Regions from separate parts of the Homo sapiens genome. Here regions 2, 3, 4 and 5 are each linked to region 1. The links are contacts of gene promoters, found by promoter capture Hi-C in blood cells and fetal thymus (Javierre and others, 2016). All regions are on one chromosome and are shown on one strand. Each heading gives the region's core, a stretch centred on a gene start or on the middle of the fragment in contact. The rest is flanking DNA. Distances are from core to core; before and after follow the strand shown.

Region 1 (5,692 bases), core at 2,875-5,374:
TTCCAGGGTTATAAATGAGGAAACTGGCATTCAGAGGTAACATAACTCACCCAAGGCCACACAGCCAGGAGATGGCTGGATGGGGATCTGAACTCAAGTCTGCCTGCTTCCAGAGGTCAGGCTGCCTCCGCGCTTCCCAAGGAGAGGGTTTAGAAGTCCTTATGGCTCCCAGAAACTACAAAAGGTTCCATTCTGAGAGGTGGAAGATAAGCCCGCAGCTGCCCAATGTGCACGCTCCTCCTCTCAGCCCCATCTGCCTCTCCACCTTGCTTTCTGGAATGCGGCAGTCTCACAGATAAGAAGTAGAAAAGACTTCAAATACCCAACTTCACATTTGCTTTTCTGTTAGTTGATGCAAATTAAAAAAAGAAAGACCTTCCTGAAGTCAGAATGTGTGATAAAAAATATTATTTTTAAAGTGGCAAGAATAAATATTTAGTTAGACAGTTTGACACAAAATTTTGCCTGGCTGTGCAGCATCTCAGATGACAAAACAAGCCCTTGCCTACAGGGCTAATTACGGACTACTAAATTATTTTTATTAAAACCCTTTGGAACATTATGAGGGATGAGGCAATGTGGTGTTGAAGAATAACTCTAGTCTGGAAATCTGGAGATCTAATCCTGACTCAGCCACTAATAACCACCAACATTCATCTGCCTAGTGTACACAGTTTACAAAGTGTTTTTACATACGTTCTGCATGGGTTGGGTGACCTTAGGTAAGTCATTTAACTCTTGGTGTCTTGTGTCAACTTTAGAAATGAGGGCATTAAACTATACCATCTGGGGTCACCTCCAGTGCTAACATCCTAAGCGAGGGAGACATGTGCCTTGGGACCTTTACAAATGTATCTGTAAGCAAATCAGGGCAGATGCATTCTGTTTTAAAAAACTATATTTTCTGGCCAGGCGCGGTGGCTCACGCCTGTAGTCCCAGCACTTTGGGAGGCCGAGGCGGGTGGATCATGAGGTCAGGAGATGGAGACCATCCTGGCTAACAAGGTGAAACCCCGTCTCTACTAAAAATACAAAAAATTAGCCGGGCGCGGTGGCGGGCGCCTGTAGTCCCAGCTACTCGGGAGGCTGAGGCAGGAGAATGGCGTGAACCCCGGGAAGCGGAGCTTGCAGTGAGCCGAGATTGCGCCACTGCAGTCCGCAGTCCGGCCTGGGCGACAGAGCGAGACTCCGTCTCAAAAAAAAAAAAAAAAAAACTATATTTTCTGTTCGGCTTCTGACAAATGTTACTCGGCTAAATTCAGGAATAGCTCATAAGACGTTTGCTGCCAGTTAGTTGGCTCAGTTTCTGGAGAGTACCACATTAAGACCCTGGGTTGGATTCTCATATGGGAACTTTCCTCCGTTCAATAGCCTCCTACTATGCCTAACTCCAGCCAGTCATCTTACAAATACAACCCCACAATGTGTGCTGGCGTGCAGGAAGGACTAGAAGAAACTCAGCTTCACAATGCATGCACTCTCAGGACGGTAGGTCAGAAACGGCATCATCACACAGGAATACTATCAATAGCATTCTTTCTCAGTTCCAAGATTCACAAATCCCTCCCTCAAGTCTTGCCATTTCCCGAGGGTTTTAATGTTTCTAAAATGAGGATGCACCTTGGAATCAGCATATATATTTTGATCTGGTAGCATTAGATTATTTTACCTAAAAGCTATTGGTAAATTGCTGGTGTGTCTTAGAATCAAGAATACAGTCCTACAAAACCTCAATACCATTACATAGATTTAGGTCTAACTTGGTTCAAATCATGTCCCTCTCCTTGATCTTAACAATTACATTCAGCAACAGCTGGATAGGCAATGTATAAGACAAGTATTAGTCCTGTTTCCTCATAGTAGCAGTTTAAAAGGCATTCCATCATTATCTCATAAAACACTGGTATGGATTTCAAAGGCAAATTAATCCATATAAAAACTACTCTGATCCTCTGAAAATGTACTATCCCATAGCAAACTGGAAAGGAACATTTTACTTACACCCTCCTGATCTATCTAGCCTTGACACATTTTCTTCCTCCTTAATTCACAACCCTCCACCCCAGTAATATCGCTGATTCCCAAAATACACTCAGCCCAGGAGGAGCAGCTCTCCAGTACAGCTGTCTGCTCCTGCCCTGCTCGGGTATTTTGGTGAGCTATGTGACACAGGACCACACAGAAGGAATGCCACTCTCAGGCCCCACAGTTCCCACTGCACCACAGGCAGGTGCATCCCACCAAACCCCAGTCTGGCATTCGAAACAGAAGAAACTGCCCTGCTGGATGGGGGCTATAGTTTTCCTGAACTTCATCTCTATGTTTAAAACTAGGGCGACAGCCGTCTTGGCTACTGTAAACTAATCTGATGGGCATGGGGGCAGGGAGTGGCTATGAGGAGGCTGCCAATAGGCCATGATTGAGCAAAGTAAAGAGTGAAATAGTTATTTCTCATTGTTTGCAACCCCGGAAACTCCAAATGAGTGGCTCCTTCACCATGATTTTTAGAAATGGACCATGCGTTCCTTTTACCATCTGGAGTAAAAATCCCAAAGCCTCTTGTGCGGTAGATCTGGCTTATATTTACACGTGCTTTCTAAAAGCACACTGAAATTTGGAAGCCAAATAAAAAAGAAGCTGACAATGAGGTCATATAGTAGTTAGGGGCCCTCAAGTTGAGACATGTTTATTAAGAGTTTCTGGCTCTGGGCACTAACTCTGACTTCAACTCAGTTCTTCTGGAAAAAGAAAACTGTTTGGGACCCTCTTCTATTCCAAGAACAGGGACTGCAAGATGGGCAGGTGGAGGGGTAGCAAACATAACCCAGGGAATTGTCCAAATATGCTAGAACCCCTATCTGGTGACAGCCCCACAAAGACACACAGCTGGAGGAGGCACAGTGTACAGGCCTCACACCTACACCATGGAGAAGCTTCGATTTTTCTCCTTCCTCTCAACTCTGCACACGTTATGTTAAAAACTCACTACTATCCAATTAGTTAATTTACAGGAATCCAAGATCAAGTCCTGCCACAGCCCCTTCATATATAAACAGTAAGCACTTCCTATGGATGGTATCAGGCCTTTTTCCAAACCTCACATTATACCAGGGTTGTAGTGCGATTTAAAAAAAAAAAAAAGCATTTTAAAGAGTTCCGCAAGATGCTTATTCACAACACCACACCGGAAGCGCAGGAACTTGGAGCTCCCAAACGCAACCTCTTCTCCCTTCCCTCCACTACTTCTACTCCCCGCTCCGCAACACCGGCCGGGCAGTAGCTCAGCCCACTAGAAGGCCACCAGGCACTAGCCGCGTTCATTAAACGCTAGATGATCACGATGGGGCTGAACCCTTCCCAGCCAAATCTATTCGGAAAGCCCTGCAAGCTCTGAGCAGCCAGTGAGAACTGTCCAGACCTGCTTCCCCAAACCAGCCAGGCAGGAGCGTGTGGGGAAGAAACCCGAGGCCCCCAGGCTGGGCCTGGCCCGATGTTCCCCCTCCCCCAAGTCTCCCCTCGCTCTCCTGTCACTCTTTTTCTGGCACATCACTGGGGAGATCCAGAGAGGCCGGGAGATGTCAGGCCTAGGAGGAGTGAGGAGGAGGGAGAAGGGATAAGGGCGGACGGGAGGTAGTTTGGAGAAAATATCAGCCCAGGGCAGAGGTGCGGTGGCCACGTCTAGTGGGGAAGGAGCCTCAAGGTGGACCCGGAGAGACGGAGGGAAGGGGAGGGGAGGGAAGGGGAGGGGGAGTGGCTGGGGAGGCCGGGCCGCCAAGGCCGGAGGGAACCCGGCGACAGGGATGGAGGGGGTTGACCGGCGCGGGGAAGGCGCGGTCGGGATGCGGGAGTGCGGGTGGGGAGGCAGGGGCGGGGGGAGCCCGGTTCCCCTCCCCCAGCCCGGGCCCTGGCCTCCCGCTGACTCAGCCCCACGGCGTCCGTCGCCTCGGCCCGGACTCACAGTGCACGAGGCGGCTCCGGCGGAGGCGGAGGGGGAGGGGACAGGTGGCGGGGGCGCTGCGGCAGAGGCTGCGGCTCCGGCCGGCGGCTCCGGGGCGGAGGGTCCTCGCTGAGGCCGCCGCGGTCTCCGGCTTCAACGCACAGAGACTGCGGGGGACGAGGGCACTGCGCAGGCGCGATGCGGCCGCCGCTGTCAGTCCGAGCGGGGCGGGGCCAGGGCACCCGCCGTCTCCAAGGCAACTGAGCCGCGGGAGGACAGCCCCTACCTCCACCTTGCCTTAGCGATTGCGGCGGGAGGCGGGGGGCGACAGGAACAGGCCCACTGCGTTGCCGTAGCAACGAGGAGAAGAGACCGCTTCAGACGTGTGCGGCGGTACCGAGGGAACGCGCCTACCTCGTCACCATAGCAACTGGGAACAGCCCCTTCCTTTTTCCCTGGCAACAGGGTAACAATCCCTCCGCCCTGTCTCATCACAGGAGGAACAACCGTGTGCACCTGATTTCAGTAGCTGGATGACGGATTTTCATCTTTTATGGCTACGGAAAAGGAAAAAGAGACGTTTTCTTCTCTTTCAGCGACATGGAAGAGCTAAGGCTGGGTTTTATCTCCTCTCTTGGTGTGTGGGTTCCAATCACAGTCTTTTTCTCTAATTCCCAAATTCATTTTTTTTTCTTTTTTTTTGGGACGGAGTTTCACTCTTGTCGCCCAGGCTAGAGTGCACTGGCGCGATCTTGGCTCACTGCAACCTCTGCCTCCTGGGTTCAAGCAATTCTCCTGCCTCAGCCTCCCGAGTAGCTGGGATTACAGGCGTGCGCCACAATGCCTGGCAAAGTTTTTGTATTATTAGTAGAGACAGGGGTTTCATCATGTCGGCCAGGCTGGTCTCGAACTCCTAACCTCAGGTGATCCACCTGCCTCGGCTTCCCAAAGTGGTGGGATTACAGGCGTGAGACACCGCGCCCGGCCCAATTTTTTTCTACCTGTTTTAAACATCCCCTTTCATCTCCTACCAGAGAGTGTGCCCTTTACCCTTAAATCGAGCTAACGAAATCGTCTATCCACAGACCACTTGAGTTTTTGTCAGCCTTATTGTCTCTCTCCCATTGCAAGGATAAACACCTCATTTCTTCATCTTGCTCACTATCTGGTTTGCAGTCCACTTCCTCATAACTAGCTCCCTCTGACATGTCCATTCGTTTTCCCGAATTTCCTCCTCCAAGCATGCTGTTATGGATCTCCTCGGTTCTTCTGGATCTCCCTTTCCTCTCCACACTTGCTGTCCTTGTCCAGCACTGCTCTGCCCGGGGCTCCAGTATGTTCTTTCCCCCTGTGACTTCAGCATCTTGGTTCTCTTTGTGCTGATGTCTTCTGGCTCTTCCTCCCTCAGCCCTGATTCCCATGGATGCCTTGAGGTCACCTTTGTACCAACCCTGTACATTCCTCCTTTCTTACACACACCTTACACTATCGTCATTTGTTTACGTGTCTGTGTCTCCAGACTATGTGACCCTGGTGGGCAGGAATTCTGTCTTTTTCATCAGCTCCCTCAGCATCCACCACAGCATGTGACACATAGCAGATTCTGAGAAATGCTTATGTAATTGAATCAAATGAAGACAAATCTTTTCCTTCTTCTTTTCTCTGGCCTAACTGCCTCAGAGTCCCAGTCCCCATTTCTAATACCTTTACACATAGTTTGTCTTTTAGTACTATGCTACTATTATAAGTCTTTCA
Region 2 (5,843 bases), core at 691-3,190, 350 kb before region 1:
CTCCCTCCCAATATACCCACTTCATACTATCCATTGTTCATACACTTCTCTACCTTTATTCCTCTTCTCATATTCCTCCCTTCGCCAGAGTGTCTTTTTCCACCATCTTCACCTGAGTTCAATTCATCCTTCAAGGTCCCGGCTCAAATTCCACCTTCACCAAAGAGCTTCCCAGTTTTCTCCAGTAAAAAATAGTTTCCCTCCCTTGTGTTCCCAAGGGGGAAGGGAGGAAAAAGGATAAACAAGCATTAAGCACTTGATCCATTTTAGGCACTTCGCATGTGTCACTTGTATGAGGTAGGTATTGCCATTTTACTTAATGATAAAAGAGTTGGAGAGGGTAAGCTGTCTGTAAAAGGTCAAGGTCATATAACTAGTAAGTGGTGGTGCTGGGGATTTGAACTCAGTCTAACTTCAGAATATAACTTTACAGCCTACCACATTTGGTCTCCTATTACATTTACTTTTGTCAGTTCACTCCTCTAGCATGCTGTTTTGCAAATAGCATTTTAGTTAAATGTTTGTGACATTGACTTCTCTTGCTTCCTTACTCTGTTTCTCCAGGATTTGTGGCAGGAGTCTCCCTGCCTTAATCATAAAGGAATTGAGTAAATTGGGGGTGGAGCTGGGCAGGTGGAGAGCCTGAAAGAGTGTGCCTCCTGACGTGTGGGCTCCCTGGAGATAAGTAAAGCCTGCCAGCCTGACAAGTCCATTGCCAGGGATATTGTAGACATTTCCAACGCTCTAGAAAGGATATTGCTCTATATTCACAGACTCTTAGAATGTTAGAGCTGGAAGGGGATTAAGAAATCACCTAGCTTACTGGTTTTCAAACATGCAGTTGTGGGCCCCGTTAAAAATGGGTCTTTTGAGAAGTATATACTTGGAAAAAAAAGTTGGAGAAGCAGCTGTAGTAATGCTGCCCCTCTCATCCCCACACACAAACATCTGAAAAATCCCTAGAACTGAGGAGCCGAGTTTGGAAAGTCAATAGTGTAACCTCCCTCATTTTACAGATGCAGAGCCTTAACATCAAGTCTAGTCATGACCAAGGCTGCACAGCCCGTTAGTTTGGGAGCCAATACCTAATGTCTTCTGAGGTTCTAATTCCAATGCTTTCTGTGGAAGAATCATACATACGCAGTATTTCTTAAGTGGCTGTTTGCGGCAAAGCACTGAAATAGTTGCTATGAGGACGACAAATATGAACGACCCCAGTTTTACCCACTCATGAGCTCACAGTTGAGGCCAGTGAAGAACCTAGAGACAAAACACGCACTTAACTATAACTTATAGTTCCCTAACTACGATTGCTGAGACAAGGATCGTAGTTATGGCCAGTTATGCGGGGAGGGTGGGCTGAACAATGAGACTACCGGATTGAGAGAGGCCCGGGTCTCGCGCGGAGAGAAGGGGCAGGAGGAGGCAGAGGGTCGAACTTAGGTGAGAAATATGGCTGGCGGGCCCCACACCAGGGTCCGGCACAGTCCAGCTGGAAAAGGGGTCTCTCACAGAGTGGGTGGCCGAGTTAGGCCGCTCTCCACGGGTATTCATGGCTCGGTCCACCCCCATTCCTGTCCTGGCTGCGTAATCCGAAGGACGCTGGGAGGAAGGGGCGGGACTTGTGGCGGAAGTTCCTAGGCCAGCCTGTCACGTGGGAGGGAGGCTCGGCGCTCAGGTGAGTGGCGGGTGATCTGCGGTCTCTGGCTTAAAGCGTCGCAAGCCATGAGTGCCCACAAGGTGTGTGGTCATCCTATATCCGGGCAGTGACGGGCCCTATTTTCGGTTTGGAGCTGGACTCAGGAAGGTTACAAACTGGTTCCAACCAAGTCTGAATCTGGAGACGGACCAAGCTATCTTTTGAGGCACCCAAGCTCTGGGTAGAAGCCAGAGCAAAGCTGTCCTCATGAGTGTCTCCGTCGGGAACGGAGGCTTCCAGGTGGTCTGGCTTCAGGAATGAGGTTGGGGTGGCTGGTGGCTGCTACCAGGAGTCCATAGCTTCCCACAGCCTTTCTCTCTTCCCCAATTGTCTAAGGCGACTCCTGCGACAGGAAGCTGTCTGGGAAGCATCCTTCATGTGGCCTCTGCCCCTTTAAGTCACATTGGAAGTGGGAAGGGGAAGGGAGTGGGCACAAGGGAATGTCAGGCGGCTTCTTAGTCGTGGAGAGGGACGGTGGGGGTGACCCCCTCTCCTCTTGGCTTGACAGGAAGCATGGCACTCTGGCGGGCATACCAGCGGGCCCTGGCCGCTCACCCGTGGAAAGTACAGGTCCTGACAGCTGGTGAGTGTCCCTCTAGGACTTGAGTGGGACCAGGGCAGACTGATTTGGAAGCCAGAGGCTTGCCCCACTGCACCACCCTCACTTCCTGTTTCTATTCGGCTCTCTTGAAGGGTTGGCTGTCTTTCATCCTACACTGTCCCCAGTCTGTTTTGGAGGGTGGTCCCCAAGGCTGTTTTTAAGGGGTATGCGTAGTTGGCCAAGCTGTGCAGTAGGGTTTTAGGATTTCAAAGTCCTCAAAAAGCTGAACAGTCAGCCCTGAAGGATAAAGGCATTGCCCCAGGAGGCCTCAACTTGGAAAACATTTTACCGTATGCAAAGCACTTTCATATACGTTATGGCATAGGGCCCCCACAAAGGTGTGTGAGCTAGGAGGGTTACTTGAGTCCACATTAGATCACACCTAATAAGTGCTGAATCAAGACTCTTACCCCAGTTTTTCTTGGTATTTTTTATTGTGAAACATACAAAAGAATGATTAAGATGTGTATGTACAGTTTAAATGGCATTAAAACTGAACACTCCTGTGTCAGTAATCAGCTTTGAGACCTCTTGAGTGCCTCTCCGTAATTCACCCAAAATTTCCTGAGTTTTGTTTATATCGTTCATTTGCTTTTGTTATCATTTACTGCCTAAATATGTATCTCCAAGGTTAGTATATTGGTATCTGATCACTCCATCCTGATCCATTTGGAGTGATCAGATACCAGTCACTCCAAATGCAGTGATTGAGTACTAACCTCACAGAGGTAATGCAGTGACCTACCTGCATTTGTTACCATCTTCATTTTGCAAGTTAGCTAATGTAAGAGGATGGCATGAAGATAAGTAAGTCTTAGAGGGGGAATGTCAGAAGGCCTTAGAACATTGGGGTGCAAAGAGTGATCACATTAAGATGAGGTCTTGCCCATGTTTAGAGAAGGGGAACAGGATTCTAGTGATGACTGGCCTTCTGAGAAGAGGACTATTGGAAGGGATTGGGGGCTACTGAAGGCCAGAGTGGAACAGGGATCCTGTGACCAGAACAGCCCTGCATCGGCACAGAAACTTAACTGCATGAATGGCCAGGAGATGGATTCTTTGGCCCTTCCCTGGGCCCCTCTCCAGTCTCCGGTGCCCAACCACCTCTTGTCCTGTCCTCAGCGTCCGTCAGCCTGTATGACTCACCTGGCTACGTGTGTGGTGACTCATGCTGGACAGTGTGGCTATGATGGGAACTGACACGCTGGGCCCTTTGCCCAGGCTCAGATTCCCTCAGGGCCCATAACTGCCAGATGGAAGATTCCCCCTTGTGGTCATCAAGAATAGGGAGGGAAAGAGTCCTTATATTTCCCTACCTGAGGCATCTGCAGCTGACAAGGGCAGGAGCTAGAGCTCCAAGGAGGCCTAGGTGCCGACATGTGGCTGGAGTTCTGGGCTCTTGGTGCTGGAGCCCTTCAGCTCCACAGCCTCAGTCTTCCTGAGGCTATGCTGACGTCCCAGCTCAGCCCTGAAGCAAAATGTAGCCTCCCAGCACTTTTCCCAGACTTTTTCAGACCATCCAGACTTTTCCTTTCCTGCTGTTCACTGTATTTGGATCAAACTACAAATAAAAGGTGGAAGTGGCTTTAGTTCACTGAGCCATTTTTGGACCCCAGCACAGTAGTTCCTAAGGTCCCATGGGATAGCTCATCACACTGGAAAACAGTACAGAGATTTCAGACTTAGAAGACCAGGATTTGAATCTTAAAACCATAGCACCTAGTAGGTGCATTAATCAGGACAAGTCAGTAAGCTTCTTTGAGCCTTAGTTTCCTCTTTTAAAACTTGAGTTTAGGGACTGGGCGCGGTGGCTCACACCTGTAATCCCAGCACTTTGGGACGCCGAGGTGGGCAGATCACGAGGTCAGGAGATCGAGACCAACCTGGCTAACACGGTGAAACCCCGTCTCTACTAAAAATACAAAATTAGCCGGGTATGGTGGCGCATGCCTGTAATCCCAGCTACTTGGGAGGCTGAGGCAGGAGAATCACTTGAACCCATGAGGCAGAGGTTGCGGTGAGCCAAGATTGTGCCATTGCACTCCAGCCTGGGCAACAAGAGCGAAACTCCATCTCAAAAAAAAAAATCAACAAAAAAAAAATCTTGAGTTTAGTTATATGACCTCACAGGGTCAGTATAGGAGTATCACTGTGAAAAGGTTTTGGACATTTTTTTTCTTTTTTTTTTTCTTCGAGATGGAGTCTTGCACTGTTGCCCGGGCTGGAGTGCGGTGGCGTGATCTCGACTCACTGCAACCTCCGCCTCCCGGGTTCAAGTGATTCTCCTGCCTCAGCCTCTTCAGCAGCTGGGATTATAGGCATGCGCCACCACGCCCAGCTAATTTTTTCTATTTTTAGTAGAGACGGGATTTCACCATGTTGGCCAGGCTGGTCTCGGACACTTGACCTCGTGATTCACCCGCCTCGGCCTCCTAAAGTGCTGGGGTTACAGGTGTGAGCCACTGAGCTCAGCCTTTTTTTCTTTTTCTTTTTTTTTTTTTTTTGAGATAAGGTGTCACCCTGTTACCCAGGCTGGAGAGTGGTGGTGCTATATCAGCTCACTGCAACCTCCGCCTCCTGGGTTCAAGCAATTATCATGCGTCAGCCTCCTGAGTAGCTGGGACTACAAGTGCACAGCACCACACCAGGCTACTTTTTTGTATTTTTAGTAGAGATGGGCTTTCTCCATGTTGGCCAGGCTAGTCTTGAACTCCTGACCTCAAGTGATCCGCCCACCTCAGCCTCCCAGAGTACTAGGATTACAGGTGTGATCCAGTAGGCCCCACCTGGAAATGTTTTTAAATGCTCAGTGAACTTAAAGACTCAACAGGTTGGTTCTTTCTATGAGTGTTGGCAACACAGGCACAATAAACTATTTTATTATTATTATTATTTGAGACGGGGTCTTGCTCTTTTGCCCAGGCTGGAGTGCAGTGGCATGATCCCATCCTGAACTGTGACTATGCCACTGCACTCCAGCCTGGGCAACAGAGGATCCTCTGCCTTAGCCTCCCGAGTGGTTGGGACCGCGGGCTTGCACCACCATGCCCAGCTAATTTCTTTTGTTTTTTGGTAGAGATGGGGTTTTGCCATATTGCCCAAGCTTTATTCTTTTTATAGTGGCGTTTGGGTTAGGTTTGTTCCACTTGCCATAATCTGAACATGGATCACTATCTTAGCCTTGGGTTCCGGAAAGCAGAGCCTGAAGCTTATGTGCAGATACCTTGTTAGGTAGTAGGGAGTGATCCCATGGAGGGAAAGAGGGAGAGCCACTCTAAGGATGCATTATTGAATTAGCCACTGCTAAGGGCAGCTGTTGCTCAGTCCCTTGGAACTGAGAAACTTTTTGAAATACTCCTTAAAGTGTCTGGGCGTGGTGGCTCATGCCTGTAATCCCAGCACTTTGGGAGGCTGAGGTGGGCGGATCACCTGAGGTCGGAAGTTTGAGACCAGCCTGGCCAACATGGTGAAACCCCGTCTCCACTAGAAATACAAAAATTAGCTGGGCATGGTGGCGGGTGCCTGTAATCCCAGCTACTCGGG
Region 3 (6,099 bases), core at 462-2,961, 390 kb before region 1:
TCAGTAGTGTGAGACCTGCCTGGGCAATATAGCAAGACCTCATCTCTATTAAACAACAACAACAAAAAAACCTGGAAGTGGTGGTATACACCTGCCACACACCCCAACTATTCAGGAGGCTGAGGTGGCAGGTTGAGGCTGCAGTGAGCCGTGATTGCACCACTGTCCTCCAGCCTGGGTGACAGAGCAAGACCCTGTCTCAAAACAAACAAACAAACAAACAAACACCTAGTAGAAATTAGAGGCAGAGAAGTAGATCAGTGAAAAGATTGGTTATAAATCAAAATTACAAATGCACCTAAAACTTTGGTTCACAATTCCACTTCTAGAAATTATCCTACCCATATAGTTACACATTTGAAGTAATTTAGATGCAAGGTTACTTATAGCAGTGTGATTTATAATAGCAAGGGACCATTGTTTATAACAGCAAAACCATGTAAATATGCATCAATATCAACAAGGCACTAGTTATACCACATCCACCCAATTAAATGCTAACTAGTTATAGCACAGAATGAGAAAGGTTTTTGTGTACAGAAATGGAATAATGGCCAAACTCAGTGACTTACACCTGTGATCGCAGCACTATGGGAGGCTGAGGCAAGAGGATCACTTCAGGTCAGGTGTTCAAGACCAGCCTGGTCAACATAACGAGACCCCATCTCTAGAAAAAATTAAAAAATTAGGCCGGGCGCGGTGGCTCATGCCTGTAATCCCAGCACTTTGGGAGGCTGAGGCAGGCGTATCACAAGGTCAGGAGTTCGAGACCAGCCTGGCCAACATAGTGAAACCCCTTCTCTACTAAAAAGACAAAAATTATCCGGGCTTGGTGGCGGGCGCCTGTAATCTCAGCTACTCGGGAGGCTGAGGCAGGACAATTGCTTGAACCCGGGAGGCGGAGTTTGCAGTGAGCCGAGATCGCGCCACTGCACTCCAGCCTGGGGACAGAGCAAGACTCCATCTCAGGAAAAAATAAAAATAAAAATAAAAACGGGGTCTCACTATGTTGCCCAGGCTGGTATCGAATTCCTGGGCTCAAGTGATCCTCCCCCGCCTTGGCCTCCCAAAGTGCTGGGATTACAGACAGGAGCTACCATACCCAGCCAAAGTCATGCTTTTCTACTCCTACTCCTTCCCTTCCTTGTCCTCTTTCCAAGCTCTCTCGGGCCCATCCCTGACTTCACTACTGGCAGAATCCTCCAGCGGCCGGCGGCGAGGACTTCTTTGTCTCCCAGACTCCGCCTTGGGCTCGGACGCCGCCAGGGTTGCAGGTACAGACTCTCTGGTCTAGCTGGCTCTTCCGGCCACAGGCGCGGCAGTCCGGCCGGAAAGGCCGGATTCAGGGATCCAGAGCGCGAGCCCGGCCTGGGAGTCCGCCTACTCCCGGCTCCCGTCGAGGCCGCGTGGGATCCCGTTGGCCGCGCAGGCGTCGATCTCCCCTTTTTGACACTGCAACTCCCATGAGGCCCTGCAGCGTCCCTGGCGCCGCTGAAGACGCCCTGGAACTCGGCTGGCTTCGGAGGGCTCGGTGACTCTGGCCGCGCTGCATTATGGAATACAGAGTCTAAGAGAAAACTAGCCCGGCACCGACTCCGGACCAAGCACACGTGTTTACCTTGTGCACTGGGGTGGGGGCGTCAGTGAAGAGCAGCTAACAAGATTTCGTCATAAGACCGCGACCAGACAGGCGGCGCCATCTTCGAACTTAGACTTCCGGAAGGACTTTGGCGAGGGTGAGTGTATCGCCGCAGCGGGTGTGTGGGGGGCCCCACAATTACTCCTCCCCCTTCTTTTGCCATAGCACTAAGATATTGGGAACAAACTCCTGGCTCCGCTCTTCTCCCAGCCACAGCAGCGCGCCTTTCAGCGTCTGCGCTCCTACAGAGCACCATCATGCTCCGCACCTTCCCTACTGTGGCCACCGTGCACCCCCCATCTCTGCAAGCCTCGGGTCTTGCCCTCCTCCCCCACGCGGTGTCGGTAACGCGGAAGCCTGTGTCCGGGCGTAGGCGCTGCATACGTAGCGTCCCTCGAACTCGGCGAACCTACAGTAGTCCTTGTTAGAAAAACCAGGGCTCCTCTCCCGCACAGGCTAGGGGAGAAATCTACCTTCACGCCCAGGACTGAAGAAGGGCAGGTGATGGCCCCTAGAGTGGTTGTGGGTCAATCTCTTTCAGCTGTGTCCCAGCCTCTTCCTCGAGGAGGCTCTTTAACCCCGAGGGTTGTGCCCCGCGCGCTGCAACGCCATTGGCGTAACCAAGGGCCAGTTGTGTTTCCCTGTCTAGTCCTTTTGTCCCGTGGCAAGTTGGCTGCCTGTTGGGGAAGTCAGAGGTGGCGACTTCAACTCCGTCGGAGGCAACTCACTTTGTTGGAGGGATGTATAGGGTATGGACAAACCTCTTTGTTCCAGAGGCATATACAATTTTAAGTCAATCCCGTGCCATCACTATTTTTGCAATCTCTTATCAATTGTACTATTGTTTTCTGAATAGTTCTCTTTAAATTGACTTACTTAAAAAGTTTAAATGCATTAGTCTCGACCTAAGCAATATAAATGAAACCGTGGGTTTCATGGGCTACTTATAATTGTTTATGTAAGTTGAAATAAAAGCACTAGTCATTAAAATGTTCGTTTTCGTACCATTAAAATCATCTTGCATACCGCCAGTTGTACCCTAGGAACACTTTAGGAAACAATATATTAAGCTAAGCAGTGTATTCAAAGTAATTTCATACTTAAGGTGCAGTGTTGTGTCATTATTTTTTCTTGGCTGGGGAGGTCAAGCTGGCATCCTGGAGCAGCATGGGAACCAGACAGATTGGGGTGCAATGGAAGGTTTTAGAAACTCAGTACGAATTTACTGATCATCTATTCCTTTACTGTGTATCCAGAATTTGTACCATTACATCCTGCTGCTGCCTTCCATGAGAAGTGTATTTTTTTTTTTTTTGATACGGAGTTTTGTTCTTGTTGCCCAGGCTGGAGTGCAGTGGCGTGATCTCGGCTCACTGCAACCTCCGCCTCCCGGGTTCAAGCGATTCTCCTGCCTCAGCCTCCTGAGTAGCTGGAATTACAGGCGCGTGCCACCATGCCCGGCTACTTTTGTATTTTTAGTAGAGACGGGGTTTTACCATGTTGGTCAGGCTGGTCTCGAACTTGTGACCTCGTTATCCGCCCACCTCGGCCTCCTAAAGTGCTGGGATTACAGGCGTGAGCCACCGTGCCCGGCCAGGCAAATTATATGTACAGGCAATTCATAAAAGTCATATGGATGTCCAATATATAGAAAGAAGTTGCTGACACCAATTATTATCAGTGCAAATAAATAGAGTGGGGAAGAATTCTTTCACCTATCAGATTGGCGAAAATTAAAAAGATCAGTAACGGTATGATAAAATGGGTACTAATATACATAAATAGTTTTAATTTTGGTGAGCCGTTTGGTAGTATCAAATTTTGAAATGTGCATGTTCTTCAGTGTAGTACAGTAATTCCATGTTCAGATGATTATTCGAGAAAAATAATTTATTGATGAATTAATGAAGAGATTTGTACTAGAATATTTATTGCAGTATTTTTTGAAATAGTATTTTAACTCATTTGTTCATTAAATGAAGATTGTCTAAATAACTAATTCTATGGAATGCCATGCAGCAATTAGGAAGAATGAGATAAATATATGTATACTGATGTAGAAAATCCTTTAAAAAAAACCGGAATCTTCCTCTGTCACTCAGGCTGGAGTGCAGTGGCGTGATATCGGCTCACTGCAACCTCTCCCTCTGCCTCTTGGGTTCAAGTGATTCTCCTGTCTCAGCCTCCCGAGTAGATGGGATTACAGGCGCCTGCCACCACGCCGGGCTAATTTTTATATTTTTAGTAGAGATGGGGTTTCACCATGTTGGCCAGGCTAGTCTCCTGACCTCAAGTGATCCATCTGCCTTGGCCTCCCAAAGTGCTGGGATTACAGGCGTGAGTCACAGCACTTGGCCTAGAAAATCCTTAAGACTTGTATAGAAGCTCTCTTAACTGATTTCCATTTAGCTCCTTATGTTAACTGACATACTCTTATTTCCTCTCTAAATGCTTGAAGCTTGAAGGTTTTTCTCCTGTAGACGTGGTCAGTCTGCTTCCACTAGTTGAGTTGAATGCTTGCCAAGAGTCATTGTATTGGTTCCCACTTTTTTTGAGACAAGATCTTGCTCTGTCACCCAGGCTGGAGTCGAGTGGCATGATCACAGCTCACTGTAACCTTGAACTCCTGGGCTCAGGCGATCCTCCTGCCTCAGCCTCTCGAATAGCTAGAGCTACAGGTATTTGCCACCACACCCAGCTAATTAAACATTTTTGTTGTTGTTGTTGAGACAGGATTTTGTTATGTTGTCCAGGCTCCCACCCTTTTTTTTTTTTTTTTTAATGTTTTGCTTTGTCTTTATACATACGTTATAGGCTGGGTGTGGTGACTCAAACCTGTAATCCTAGCACTTTGGAAGTTGAAGCTAGAGGATCACTTGAGCCCAGGAATTTGAGACCAGTCTGAGTAAGATAGTTGAGACCCTGTCTCTACAAAAAAAATAAAAATTAGCTAGGCCTGCTGGTGTGTGCATGTGGTCCCAGTGACCTGAGAGGCTGAGATGGGGAGGAGCACTTGGGCCCAGGAGGTCAAGGTGCAGTGAGCCATGATCATCGCACTACTGCATTCCAGCCTGGGTGACAGGGGAAATAAATTTTAATATGAAAGAGTTATTGTTTCTATTAAAACTAAGTTGATTGGGAGGCCGAGGTGGGTGGATCACCTGAGGTTGGGAGTTTGAGACCAGCCTGGCCAACATGGTGAAATCCCATCTCTACTAAAAGTACAAAACTTAGCTGGGCATGGTGGCACATGCCTGTAATCCCAGCTACTCAGGAGGCTGAGGCAGAAGAATCACTTGAACCCCAGAGGCGGAGGCAGCGGTGAGCAGAGAGCATGCCCCTGCGCTCCAGCCTGGGAGACAGAGCGTGACTCTGTCTCAAAAAAACAAAAACAAAAAACTAAAAAACTAAGTTGAACCATAGATGGTTGTTTGCTCCTTTTTTTTTTTTTTTTGAGACGGAGTCTAGCTCTGTCGCCAGGCTGGAGTGCAGTGGTGCAATCTTGGCTCACTGCAACCTCCTGCAAGCAATTCTCCTGCCTCAGCCTCCTGAGTAGCTGGGATTACAGGGGTGTGCCGCCACACCCAGCTAATTTTTGTATTTTTAGTAGAAACGAGGTTTCACCATGTTGGCCAGGATGGTCTCGATCTCCTGACCTCATGATCTGCTCACCTCAGTCTCCCAAAGTGCTGAGATTACAGGCATGAGCCACAGCGCCCGGCCTTTTGTTGCTATCTTTATAGTATTTTATATGAAGTAAAAGTTTTGTGAAAACAATTCTAAAAAAGTAAAGGAAGCAAACTAAAACTAAATTGAATGCTTTAGAAAGACAAAAGAGGTGAGTTTGCAAACAAAAAAGCTGCCAAATAGGTGTGAATGAGACAACTGTAAAAAATTGAGGGAATTTTGTAAAACTGTGGAATTTTACTGCTCGTTGAATTGCTTCTCAAGAAAAGTGAATGTTTCAAGAAAGTAGTGTTGGAGCTGCTGAGAGGTCAACTTGAATGAGGCTGAGAAATGTCCATTGGATTAATAATACAGTGATTATTGATGATTTTAATTTCACTGATGAGTTGGGGGACAATATGCTTCTTAGGATGATGCAGGGAAATTAAAATAATCAAGGAGCTTTTATTTATATCTTAAACTTTTTTTATATCTATATACTTTTATTTATGTCTTAAAAGTTTGACTGTAGGAGGAGGAGAATATTAGTGGAAGGAGGAATATGGGGTGAAGGATAGTTATGTGTGAAGATGAGAATTATAAACATATTTAAATGCTGTTTGGAAGGAGCCAATAGAAAAGAAATGGATAAACTAATTCCAGTTCCATTAGGAGATGGGGGAATGGGGCTAGAACACAAGTGAAAGGTTTGGTGTTAGAGAGTGAATGAAGGTGTCAGAGGCAGGGAGTATTAGCTTACTTGGCAAAAAGTTGAAGTATCTCCCACCTAACGG
Region 4 (5,285 bases), core at 121-2,620, 270 kb before region 1:
CCTGGGAGGCGGAGGTTGCAGTGAGCCGATATCACACACCACTGCACTCCAACCTGGGCGATGGAGTAAGACTCTGTCTCAAAAAAAAAAAAAAAAAAAAAATTCCTCAGACAAGGCCACTGTGGACACTGTGGATTAAGGAATGAAAGAGTGAGAAACATTCTGGGGTCTTCACAGTCTGTGCAGTCCAGGACAAAGAGTGGGCCCCCCAGCCATCCTTCACCACACTGCAGGTCTCTATGCCAGGGGCTGCCAGTGTTCAGAAGCCAAGTTCTCCCCAAAGACTTACCCGGCAGTCGCACAAGCTTTTGGGAGGTCATACAGTCAACATGCACCTTCAAAGGAGGGGCTGGCCCGATCTGGCCTAGGGCCTGCAAGTGGAAAGCAGTCAGCTTTAAGGGAAGGGTGATCCTGGGAGTTGTAGGGAGAGATGTGGTTTTCCCATAAACCAGGCTCTGCACACTCTATACCCACCATCTCTCCCTCTGTAGCCACAAAGCTTTATTACTAGCATGGCTGTTCCATACTCACTCCTCCCTCTTTCTTCTTCCCATCAACACTGGCAGTCTCCCTCCCAGCACATGGGTCTCAGTTACCTCCACAAAGAGTTTGGTGCACTTGATATCGATGATTAGGGGCACGGAGAAGTCAGCGGCCAAGCGTCGGGTGCGGTAGCCCTTGGTGACAAAGGAAGAGAGACGCCGGCCCCCAGCTCCACGCATTGACAGGTTAATCACCAGCTCAAAGTTTTTCTCAGCTAGCTGCTCCAGGATGCTCCGCTGTGGTGGGCACTCACCATCCACAGCCTCCTCAAAGTGCCAGTCCACAGCTGTTACCTGCCAACCCGGAGTCAAGGTCAGGGCCAAGCTGTCTGGCAGCGGTCAGGAAGGCTAGCCTTAAGGGAGAGGAGCTGGCCCAGGAGCCCATGATGAGGAGACTGAGGACCCATAGGGTGGGCACTGAGGGCTGCCTCTATTTGATACTGGCAAAGTGTATTTCTTGGCAGGAAAGATATCTACACTAAGTAAGATGGGTTACCAAGGACTAGGTGCAGTATGAGCTCACACACATGTACACAGAGAAAATCCTGGAAGGAAAAATATCAGAACAGTGGTACAGAGATTTTAAGAGACTTTTCTCTTTGCTTCCTGTGTATTCTGCTTTCTGCATGGAATATAGCTTACTAGTATAATGGTAATAATAAAAGCAGGGGAATAGGAGATAATTCTTTGTTTTTTTTTTTTTTGAGACAGCATCTCACTGTTTCCCAAGCTGGAGTGCAGTGGTGCACTCACTGCACACTCGCAGCTCACTGCAGCCTCTACCTCCTGGGCTCAAGAGATTCTCCTGCCTTAGCCTCCTGAGTATCTGGGACTACAGGTATATGCCACCGTGCCCAGCCCAGATAATTCTTTGGTGCAGTATTTTCACCCCCTTGGGGAAGGGCAGCAGTGGGGTAGGTTGCCAGAGTTCCTGCACCTTGACGCCATGCTCAGTGTAGAAGTCAGCTGTGCCGAGACTGGCATAGAGGCTGTAGCCCAGGCTCTCCAGTAGCCGCACAGTTGGGAGCAGCTCGCTTTTGTTCTGAAACCAAACAGAAGGATGAAATTGTTTTCTTCCTGTCTTCCATTTCAAGGTCAGCCCTGGCCCAGGGAGCCACGGCCCTCGGGAAGCCCTCCTGGATTCTGATACCTTATAGCTGCCAATGGTCAGCAGGATATTCTTCTTGGGGATCTTAAAGCCAGTGCTTAGCATGGCCTTGAGGTATGCCTCACAGCGGCTCTCCCCAAAGCCGGCCACCTCCCCAGTACTGGTCATTTCCACACCCAACACCACGTCAGCACCCGCCAAGCGGGAGAAGGAGAACTGAGGCACCTAAAGGGGCGGGAGGGAAGAGAGAGGGCCAAGGTGTGAGAGGACCTCCTCCCTCACCAGCAGAGACGGACACAGTACCCTGTGCTTGATCCCATCTGAATGGCAGGGTCAGCCTGCCCTCTCTGTGTGCCCTCCTGCTTTCCAAACGTACTTGGGGTCATCCCTCAGCTTCTGCTTAGGATGTGCCCTTGCAAATAAAAAACCTTAACCATCCTTCAAAACTCAATTCAAATAGCACCCCTTCGCTCAAGCCTTCCCAGATCACCCCTTTTGGAAGCAGCACCTCCTGTCTCTTGAACTCCTGCAGCATTCTGTTTACAGGTCGAATATGTAGTTTTACCACGGACTGTTCTATACCAAAGCTTTTTTGGGGATCCAACTTCTCTTCCCTCCCATTACCATAAAGTAAGCTCTTAAGGGACAATGACCACCTCATTACCCCCACGATCCGGCAATGCCTTGCAGTCAGTGCCTGGTTTACATACTGACAACTCTGTGTGGTGAGTGAACTCTCTCCCGCTATTTTTCTGCTAACCCCAAGGGTTTCGATATTCCTTACCTTTACTCCCACGACTCCAGAACCAGTCATTAGCCCCACAGGTTCCACTTCTTCCCCCATGATGACCCGCGTGGCCAAGGCTACTAGGTCCACACCCAGTGTCTTGGAAACGAAGGGGAAGGAGCGAGAGACACGTACGTTGCATTCAATAACTTTCAGCTGGTCATCCTGGGGCAGAGAAGACTGGTCAGGCCTTCTGCAGGTTGGCCTTGCTGACACTATCTATAGGCCTAGACTCTTCCTCTCCGTCCTCAGCTCTGGGGGATCAGACTGAGCAGGGTTCAGGGTCACTGACTGTCATAAGCCCCAACACCATGAGCTCTAGCTACAGCCCTTTCCCTCCAGCTTCCCTGCCTACTTGGATGAAGGCAGGAGACAGTGCAGGGCTTCATGGCACTGTGGCCAGCACAGAACATGCAAGAGCTGTGGCCCTTTAGTTCTTTCCTTTAGCCTTATTACCTTGGCAATGAGCTGCAGATTGAAGGGTCCTGTGACCTGTAGCTCCTGGCCCACAGCATGCACAATGGCTTTGATCCGCTCCAGGGTTTTGGCAGTGATATCTTGTGGGGGGGTCACCAGCGTCGCATCACCTGAATGCACACCTGCATTCTCCACATGCTCAGAGATGGCGATGGCTGCCACCACACCATCAGAGGCCACGGCATCCACGTCAATCTCCTAGCGGGGGGACACAGACAGTGGGACATAGGGCCACTTTCTTCTCTCACTTACTCTAGGATTGTCTCTTCCTTTAACGAGCCCCACATAGCCCACTGTTCCCAGCCCTGGTGCCTATGATTCTGCTGGACCAGAGAAGGAAGTCTCCTCCAGGGCTGGCAGCATGCCCTCAGAGACTTCACTGTCTGCAGCCTCCCACCTTAGCCTCCTGGATGAACTTGGAGATGACCACGGGATGCTCTTTGGAGACGGCTGCTGCGCTGCTCAGGAAGCGCTCCAGGTCTCCATCCGTGTAGGCCACATTCATAGCAGCACCGCTCAGCACATAGGAGGGGCGCACCACACAGGGGTACCCCACGGTCTGGCAGAATTGGCGAGCAGACTACAGGAGGCAGGGAGCTTAGCTGAGTTGTTCACACTTTCCCCCAAGCATCATCCAGCCTCCGGGTAACCCACCAGGTCCCAGCCCACCTCGAGGTCACTGAGCTCCCTCCACTGAGGCTGGCTGATACCAATGGTGTCAAGGAGCCGGGAAAACTTGAAACGGTTCTCAGCCGAGTCAATGGCTTCAGGGGAGGTGCCCAGCACCCGGCACTGCTGCCGATGCAACGCCATGGCCATGTTGTTGGGCAGCTGTCCACCCATGGATAGGATCACACCTTCAGGGTTCTCGAGCTCATAGATGTCCATCACCACCTACGTTGCAGGGGGAGAAACAAGTGGTGGCAGCAAAAGAGGGCAGGAATCTGAGCCTTCCTGCTCACTGCTTCCCTCAGCCGCCACCAAGTTTCAAAGAATCTTAGGTCAGCCAGCTGTTCTACTCGACCCTGGCCACTCAAGCTACCAGGAAGCCTCCATCTCCCTCACCTCAAAAGAGATCTCATCAAAGTAGAGTCGATCACACATGTCATAGTCGGTGCTGACTGTCTCTGGGTTATAGTTCACCATGATGGTCTTATATCCCATCTGCAAGAGGGAGGGGAAGGGTACTTAGCAGTCAGGTGGGAGGAAAATCGTGGAGAAAATCGTGGAGAAACTAAGCCAAAGCCCCTACTTCAGAGACTGCCAGCACAGCTTCCTCTGAAAGAGCTGTACAGGACCCCTGCCTTGGGAGGGAAGGAGGTACAAAGTGTTGGGGAAGAGATTCATATACCGTGTGGGGCATGAGAGATGGCCTAAAAGGACCCCCACCCCAAAGCTCTATGACCAAAGTAAGGGACGGCAATTAATAGGAAATGCCAGGATTAGTGCCAAGCAATTGCTAGAGATGAACAGAATAGCAAGGAAAGTGGAAAGAAAATGAACTCTCTGACCTTTCGGAGCTGCTGGATGCAGCCTACAGCACACCAGTCAAATTCAACGCTAGAGCCAATACGGTAGACGCCAGAGCCAAGGACTAGGACATGAGGTGTTCGAAAGGTGAGGTCATGGGTGGTGCCCCAATACGTTAGGTATAGGTAATTTGTCTGGGCTGGCCACTCAGCTGCAACTGTGTCAATCTGTTTCACTGCTGGACAGATCCCCAGTTCCTGACGCAGCTTGCGAACAGCCAGCTCTGTGCTAAAATAGAAAAAGGGTCTGAAACACAGGCCCAGAGAGTAGGGTACAGACTGATAGAGGGTTGAGACCCCAGGGCACAGATGAGAGGAAATATCCTTGGAACCAAGGTCAGAAGCCTCTAAAGCTCTCCCACACTCTCCTTCCTCCCTCCCAAGGGTCCCTCACTGATACAAAGGTTCTGCCCCACATTTCCCAGCCGGAAGCTCTCATTGCCACCTCTGACCTCAGAACTGCAAGGGCAATCTGTTTGTCTGAGAAGCCAAGACACTTGGCCTGTTGCAGCAGGTCTGGCGGCAAAGGCTGTCCACGGTGTTGTTCTAGCAGCTGGGCATGTGCGATGATACGCTTCATTCGGTGCAGGAACCAGCGGTCGATGCGTGTGAGCTCATACAGGCGGTCCACTGAATAACCAGCCCACAAAGCAGCTGCCACCACAAAAATCCGCTTATCTGTTGGAGTCTCCAACTCCTGATAGAAAGGGGGTAGACAGACGGAAGCTACTGCCAGCCCATCTAAAAGCCTGAGCGTAAGTAGCTGCTCTTGTCTCAGGAAGGGGAAACTGTACACCAGAGCACAGGCTGTGTAACTGCAAAAACCTGGATACCAATCCTGG
Region 5 (5,263 bases), core at 1,484-3,983, 280 kb before region 1:
AAAAATGTTTATGGTATAATGCTGAGAAAAAAGCTGAATATAAAATTGCATCTACATTATGATTCAACTATTAAAAATATATATGGTGAGTCATGAGCTGACAAAGGATTTTTGAGTTTCTTCCAGATGCAAGAAGCAATCAGAGTCATGCAATTTGTATGCCAAAAATATTATAATTTGTGGGATATTTGATGGAAACTCTAGAGGGACAATGAGACAGATATTTAACAACTGGATTGTCCTGGGAAATCGGGTGGTATGGCTGCTGAAATGTTGAGCTGTATGTTGACACTTAATGACAGGAGAGAATAGGAGACTGGAAAGAGTTTAGTGTGTTAGCATGGTTGATTGGGGTGAGTCTCTCCAACATTTGATTTGACACTTTTATGCTGTTCATACAATACAGAAAGAAAAGCAGGCTTCCATTCACGCCTGGCTTTAATGCTGTGCAGCCCCTTTCCCTGTCCTTATCTCAGTCCCTGCCTGTTCTTTCTCCCCCGGGATGGATGCCGCCTCTTATCACTCTCCCACAGACTCCACCGCTGACCCTGAAGCCGTCCTGGCTGAAGCCTCATCCCGGCTCTACTCCCGGTTTGGATTCTCCAGCTGCACCCTGCAGGTCGAGCAGTATCAGCCGGAGATGGCCCAGTGCCTGCGCTGCCAGGAACCCCCCCAAGCCTGAGCCATGGCCCTGCCCTCACCCCACTGCCAGGCCGAGGCTCAGCCCCAGACTCTCAGCATCTGCTGCCCTGATCACAGAGACGGGACCGAGCCAGGTCCATACCCCTTCCTCTCTCCCTCCTACCACCTGCCAGTTTCCCCAGCCTCAGCCCCAGCCCCAGCCCCAGTGGGCAAGACCAAAGTGTGGCGGGGAGTGGGGTGGGAGTCAGGGGAATAGATGTGACTAGTTCAGGGGCGGGGACTCCCAGGCCTCAGTGTGGCAGGGTGTGTTGAAGGCCTGTGGTGCCATCTCCCCATGGTTCATGTGGAGCCACGAACATCCTTTCCCTGCAGTCCATTTGTCTGTGTGGCAGGCTGGCTGGCTGGGGGCATCTGCCTGTCTATGTGCTGTTGGTGTGCCTATGCCTGGGGGAGGTCAGTAGGGGCCCCCTCCCCACATGGCCCTCGCTCTGTCTATGCAGGGGCCCCAAAGCCCGCACTTTGTCCGTGTGTCTTAGCCCTGTGGTTTTGTCTGTGTGTGTGTGTGTGTGTGTGTGTGTGTGTGTGTGTGTGTTCTTGGTGCTGTGGCCTGTGTGTCTCTGTGCCTATGTGGCTGTGCTATGGTTTCTATGAGTCTGCTCCATCCATGTGTCTGTTTGGGGGTCTATCTCTCCATCCCTCTGTTGGTGCTGTGCCCTTGGCTATCCCTGAAAGAGGGAGGACTCCGCTGCAGCTCCACCAATAAACTTGTGTCTCACTGCATCTTTCAGCCTGTGTGCTGACTCCTCAGGAGGGGGAAGTCAAATAGGTCACTTGAGAACAACAGAATCCCTCCTGTCCCTTCCCAGCCTCTGGAGTGACCTCCCACAGACCTCCTGTCCCTTCCCAGCCCCTCCACCCTCAGATGGAGGGTAAAAGCCACCAGTCTCTTTACTCCCCTTCCCCTGGCTCACAGCATGCCTGGGTCCTTGGCTCAGGGACAGTCCCATGTGCCCTGGGCTTGGTTGCAGGAGAATGCTGGAAGGTAAGGAGCCAAGGAATCCCTGGGAGTCAGTCGTTCTCAGAGGTCCCTGCATGCCAGTGGGCCTCAGGCTGGCTGGAGGGAGGCTGGGTCCCTTTGAGGGAGAATGGCTAGACCATAGCACTGATGTGGGCTTGGTTCTCAGGCCATCTAAGGTGTCCAGCGGTAGGGACCCCTCAACCCTGATAGCAGCCAACCCTGAGTCCAGGTTTAGGCTGTGAACACCAAGGACCTCTTTTACACCTATTCCCCCTTTGTCTTAAGAACTGCATATTTTGACACATTAAGTCTTAAAATCAGGCTCATTAAGGGATTGTTGATTTTCTCTTTAAAAAAAATCAAACTCAAGCTGGACATAGTGGCCTGTGCCTGTAATCTCAGCCCTTTGGAGGCTGAGGCAGGAGGATTGTTTGAGCCCAGGAGTTCAAGACCAGCCTGGGCAACCTAGGGAAACCCCTGTCTCTACAAATAATTTAAAAATTAGCTGGGTGTGGTGGTGCATACCTGTAGTCCCAGCTATTCAGGAGGCTGAGGCAGGAGGATTGCCTGAGCCCAGGAGGTCAAGGCAGCAGTCAGCCATGATCATGCCACTGCACTTCAGCCTGGGCAACAGAGCAAGACCTTGTCTCAAAAAAAAAAAAAAATCAAACTCACTGGGTTTGGTGGCTCATGTCTGTCATCCCAGCACTTTGAGAGGCTGAGGCAGGAGGATCGCTTGAGGCCAGGAGTTCAAGACCAGCCTGGTCAACATAGTGACACCCTGTCTCTACAAAAAAAATTAAAAATAAAAATAAATTAGCTACGTGTGGTGGTGTATGTCTGTGGTTCCAGCTACTCAGGAGGCTGAGGTGGGAGGATCACTTGAGCCCAGGAGGTTGAGGCTGCAATGAACTATGATCATGCAACTGCACTCCAGCCTGAGCGACAGAGCAAGACTCCATCAAAAAAAAAAAAAAAGAAAAAAAAAGAAAAATCAGCTAGGCAAGATGGCTCACGCCTGTAATTCCAGCACTTTGGGAGGCTGAGGCAGGCAGATCACTTGACCCCAGGAGTTCAAGATCAGCCTGGGCAACATGGTGAAACCCTGTCTGTACAAGAAATACAAAAATTAGCTGGGCATGGTAGTGTGTACCTGTAGTCCCAGTTACTTGAGAGGCTAAGTGGGGAGAATCACTTGAGCCCAGGTTGTCGAGGCTGCAGTGAGCCATGATTGTGCCACTGCACTCCAGTCTGGGCAACACAGTGAGACTGTGTCTCAAACATGGTCAAACCCTGTCTCTACTAAAAAATACAAAAATTTGGCCGGGCACAGTGGTTCATGCCTGTAATCCCAGCACTTCAGGAGGCCGAGGTGGGTGGATCACCTGAGGTCAGGAGTTCGAGACCAGCCTGACCAACATGGAGAAACCCCGTCTCTACTAAAAATACAAGAATTAGCCAGTGTGGTGGCGCATGCCTGTAATCCCAGCTACTCAGGAGGCTGAGGCGGAAGAATTGCTTGAACCCAGGAGGCAGAGGTTGCGGTGAGCCGAGATTGCATCAGTGCACTCCAGCCTGGGCAACAAGAGTGAAACTCTGTCTCAAAAAAAAAAAAATTAGCTGGGCATGGTGGTGGGCACCTGTAATCCTGGCTACTCGGGAGGTTGAGGCAGGGAGAATCGCTTGAACCCGGAAGGCAGAGGTTGCAGTGAGCTGAGATTGCGCCACTGCACTCCAGCCTGGGCGACAGAGGGAGACTCTGTCTTAAAAAAAAAAAAAAAAATTAGACTCTGTGCTTTGATTTTAGATCTAGTGCTTCAGGCCTTCCCACCATGTTGATAAAATCCCAGCCCAAAGCAAGGACGTTGAGCATTTTCAATAGCCCATGCATATTTCTGTGAGCCTTCCTCATAATAGAAATATCTTTATTATCAGATTATTTTTACTATAAAAGCAATATATACTTGTTTTAAGGGTACAACAAAGGAAAAGTATATAAAGTAGAAAGTGAATGTTTCCCCTGTAATCTTACTTTCCGAGAAAACTGCTAATCCTAGTATGGGGTCAGTATTTCTACATAATAACAAAAATGGGGTCATCTTATAGGTGAGATCGTGTTACCTGTGTTTATGACTCAACCATGCAGCCTAGACTCATCTTTCCATGTCAAGACCATAGATTTCATTCCTTTTTAAAGGTGAGGCTTTTGGACTCATCAGAGGTAGCCCCCTCCCTGATGTCCAGCTGGGAGCCTTAGCCCAGGCTGGGTGAGACGCCACTGCCCACGTCAGGGTGTGGGAGGCTGGCGAAGCGAAGGGCTGGCAGTCCATCACGCCCGGCGGCAAGGCCGCCCCAGCTGCTCGCCATGCTTTGCTGGTTCCTGATACTTTCTCATTTTACGTCTCATTGATTATAGGCCCCAGGTGACAGGATGGGGGTGGGGAAGAGTGAGGAAATCGAGGAGAGGGAAGGAGGGTGGGGAACAGGAGGACTCGATTTTCACCCTATGAAATGCTTTAAGCCACAGCCTGTCCTATCTGTGCGATGCTGGGTCCCTTTGCAGGGGAATGCTCAGGGCAGGTGAATGCCTTCACCAAGCATCCAGTCCATCTTCTGCCCATAGAAGGAGGAGACTCAGGGAGGGAAAAAGACTTCCCCAGGGTCAGCCAGCACATGCCCAGGCTCTCATTCCCACTCCAGGCCCCTTTGAAGCTCTTGCCTAGTTGAGTTTCTCAGCAAATCTTTCCTCAGCCCTTCCAGCAGCCTGCTGCCGCTGGCACTCCCGTCCTGGGGCTCTGGGGTCAGACCCTCTGGTTCTGCTCTGCCTTTACTATTATTCTAGTCACAGTTAACCTCTCTGCGTCTCAGCTTTCTCAATTATAAAATAGTGATTACGTGATATCATGGGTGTGAATGTGCCTGGTATATAGAAGGTGTATATAAGAGTTAGCTTTTGGGTTGAACCCAGGATGCAGGGGAGAGATTTCAGGAGAAGAGAGTGGCCCGGCACCCTGACAGCAGGGACAGGAAGCAGCAATCATTGAGCTTATTTTGTGCAAGGCACTGTGGTGCGGACAGTATCCTGTGCACCTGACAGATGGAGAAGCAGGCTCACCTGCCCATGGTCGTGCAGCTGGTTCCACTCGGTTCTGAGTTCTGGCCCCTGGACGTCCCCAGCCCTCTCTCTATGCCATCCTGCCTTTCCACTCACCTTCGGGCATCGGGAGGATGAGGAGACAGGTCTCTGGAGCATTCTCCCACCTTCACACTGGGCCACCATCCCCGGGAGCCCAGGAAATCCTTATCTGCAGAGCTGCCTGCACTCCCCCATTATCCTCCTATCCTCCTTCTCCACTCGCTTATCCAGAAGTCCCTTTCCCCTGGGTGCCCTTCCTTGATGATAGATGGAGGAGGGAGAGTCGAGGGGAAGGGACTGGGCCTGGGAGGGGTGAGGGGAAGGCAGGGGAGAGCAACGCAGGTGGGGGAGGGCCCATCCCTCAGCCCAGCCCCAGCTCTTTACACAGCTGATTAACTAGGGGAGGGGTGGGCTTTCGGGTCAGAGAGGAACCAGAGAAGAGGGACAGCCAGGAAAGGGGTGAAATG

The links. The method cuts DNA at HindIII sites, captures the fragments that hold promoters and counts their contacts. A CHiCAGO score of 5 or more calls a contact.
Region 2: a fragment that was not itself captured here is called in contact with the fragment with the promoter of MAPRE3 in region 1 in 2 of 17 cell types (naive B cells and neutrophils); the score reaches 5.3 in naive B cells.
Region 3: the fragment with the promoter of GTF3C2 here is called in contact with the fragment with the promoter of MAPRE3 in region 1 in 12 of 17 cell types (total B cells, neutrophils, total CD4 T cells and 9 more); the score reaches 23.6 in total B cells.
Region 4: a contact is called between a fragment that was not itself captured here and the fragment with the promoter of MAPRE3 in region 1, in 1 of 17 cell types (naive B cells). The highest score is 5.5, in naive B cells.
Region 5: a fragment that was not itself captured here is called in contact with the fragment with the promoter of MAPRE3 in region 1 in 5 of 17 cell types (naive B cells, total B cells, naive CD8 T cells and 2 more); the score reaches 8.7 in naive B cells.

Annotation. Positions count from the first base shown.
Region 1 is chr2:26,969,069-26,974,760 of GRCh38, reverse strand. It overlaps MAPRE3 (microtubule associated protein RP/EB family member 3), which reads right to left and starts at 4,124. Exons shown (of 7, transcript NM_012326.4): 1 at 3,959-4,124. RefSeq lists a silencer at 3,910-4,239. The HindIII fragment of the contact is 16,247 bases long and covers 2,936-5,692 here.
Region 2 is chr2:27,318,887-27,324,729 of GRCh38, reverse strand. It overlaps MPV17 (mitochondrial inner membrane protein MPV17), which reads left to right and starts at 1,633. Exons shown (of 8, transcript NM_002437.5): 1 at 1,633-1,678; 2 at 2,208-2,282. The coding sequence starts at 2,213. RefSeq lists enhancers at 824-1,796, 1,919-1,978, 2,029-2,078, 2,089-2,178, 2,189-2,238 and 3 more. The HindIII fragment of the contact is 4,230 bases long and covers 1-4,055 here.
Region 3 is chr2:27,352,376-27,358,474 of GRCh38, reverse strand. It overlaps GTF3C2 (general transcription factor IIIC subunit 2), which reads left to right and starts at 1,711. Exons shown (of 19, transcript NM_001035521.3): 1 at 1,711-1,736. It overlaps GTF3C2-AS2 (GTF3C2 antisense RNA 2), which reads right to left and starts at 1,710. Exons shown (of 4, transcript NR_183827.1): 1 at 1,619-1,710; 2 at 573-667. RefSeq lists enhancers at 1,381-1,510, 1,090-1,703, 1,521-1,860, 1,911-2,190, 1,704-2,317. The HindIII fragment of the contact is 6,500 bases long and covers 1-4,099 here.
Region 4 is chr2:27,231,835-27,237,119 of GRCh38, reverse strand. It overlaps CAD (carbamoyl-phosphate synthetase 2, aspartate transcarbamylase, and dihydroorotase), which reads right to left. Exons shown (of 44, transcript NM_004341.5): 17 at 4,896-5,140; 18 at 4,426-4,672; 19 at 3,980-4,078; 20 at 3,584-3,808; 21 at 3,312-3,494; 22 at 2,894-3,112; 23 at 2,435-2,602; 24 at 1,693-1,875; 25 at 1,480-1,584; 26 at 597-836; 27 at 290-371. Among named protein-coding and RNA genes, the nearest start is that of CAD, 17 kb to the right of the region's middle. RefSeq lists an enhancer at 4,439-5,285. The HindIII fragment of the contact is 1,738 bases long and covers 502-2,239 here.
Region 5 is chr2:27,250,731-27,255,993 of GRCh38, reverse strand. It overlaps SLC30A3 (solute carrier family 30 member 3), which reads left to right. Exons shown (of 8, transcript NM_003459.5): 8 at 534-2,310. The coding sequence ends at 682. Among named protein-coding and RNA genes, the nearest start is that of SLC30A3, 9.7 kb to the left of the region's middle. RefSeq lists an enhancer at 4,948-5,263. The HindIII fragment of the contact is 7,629 bases long and covers 1-5,263 here.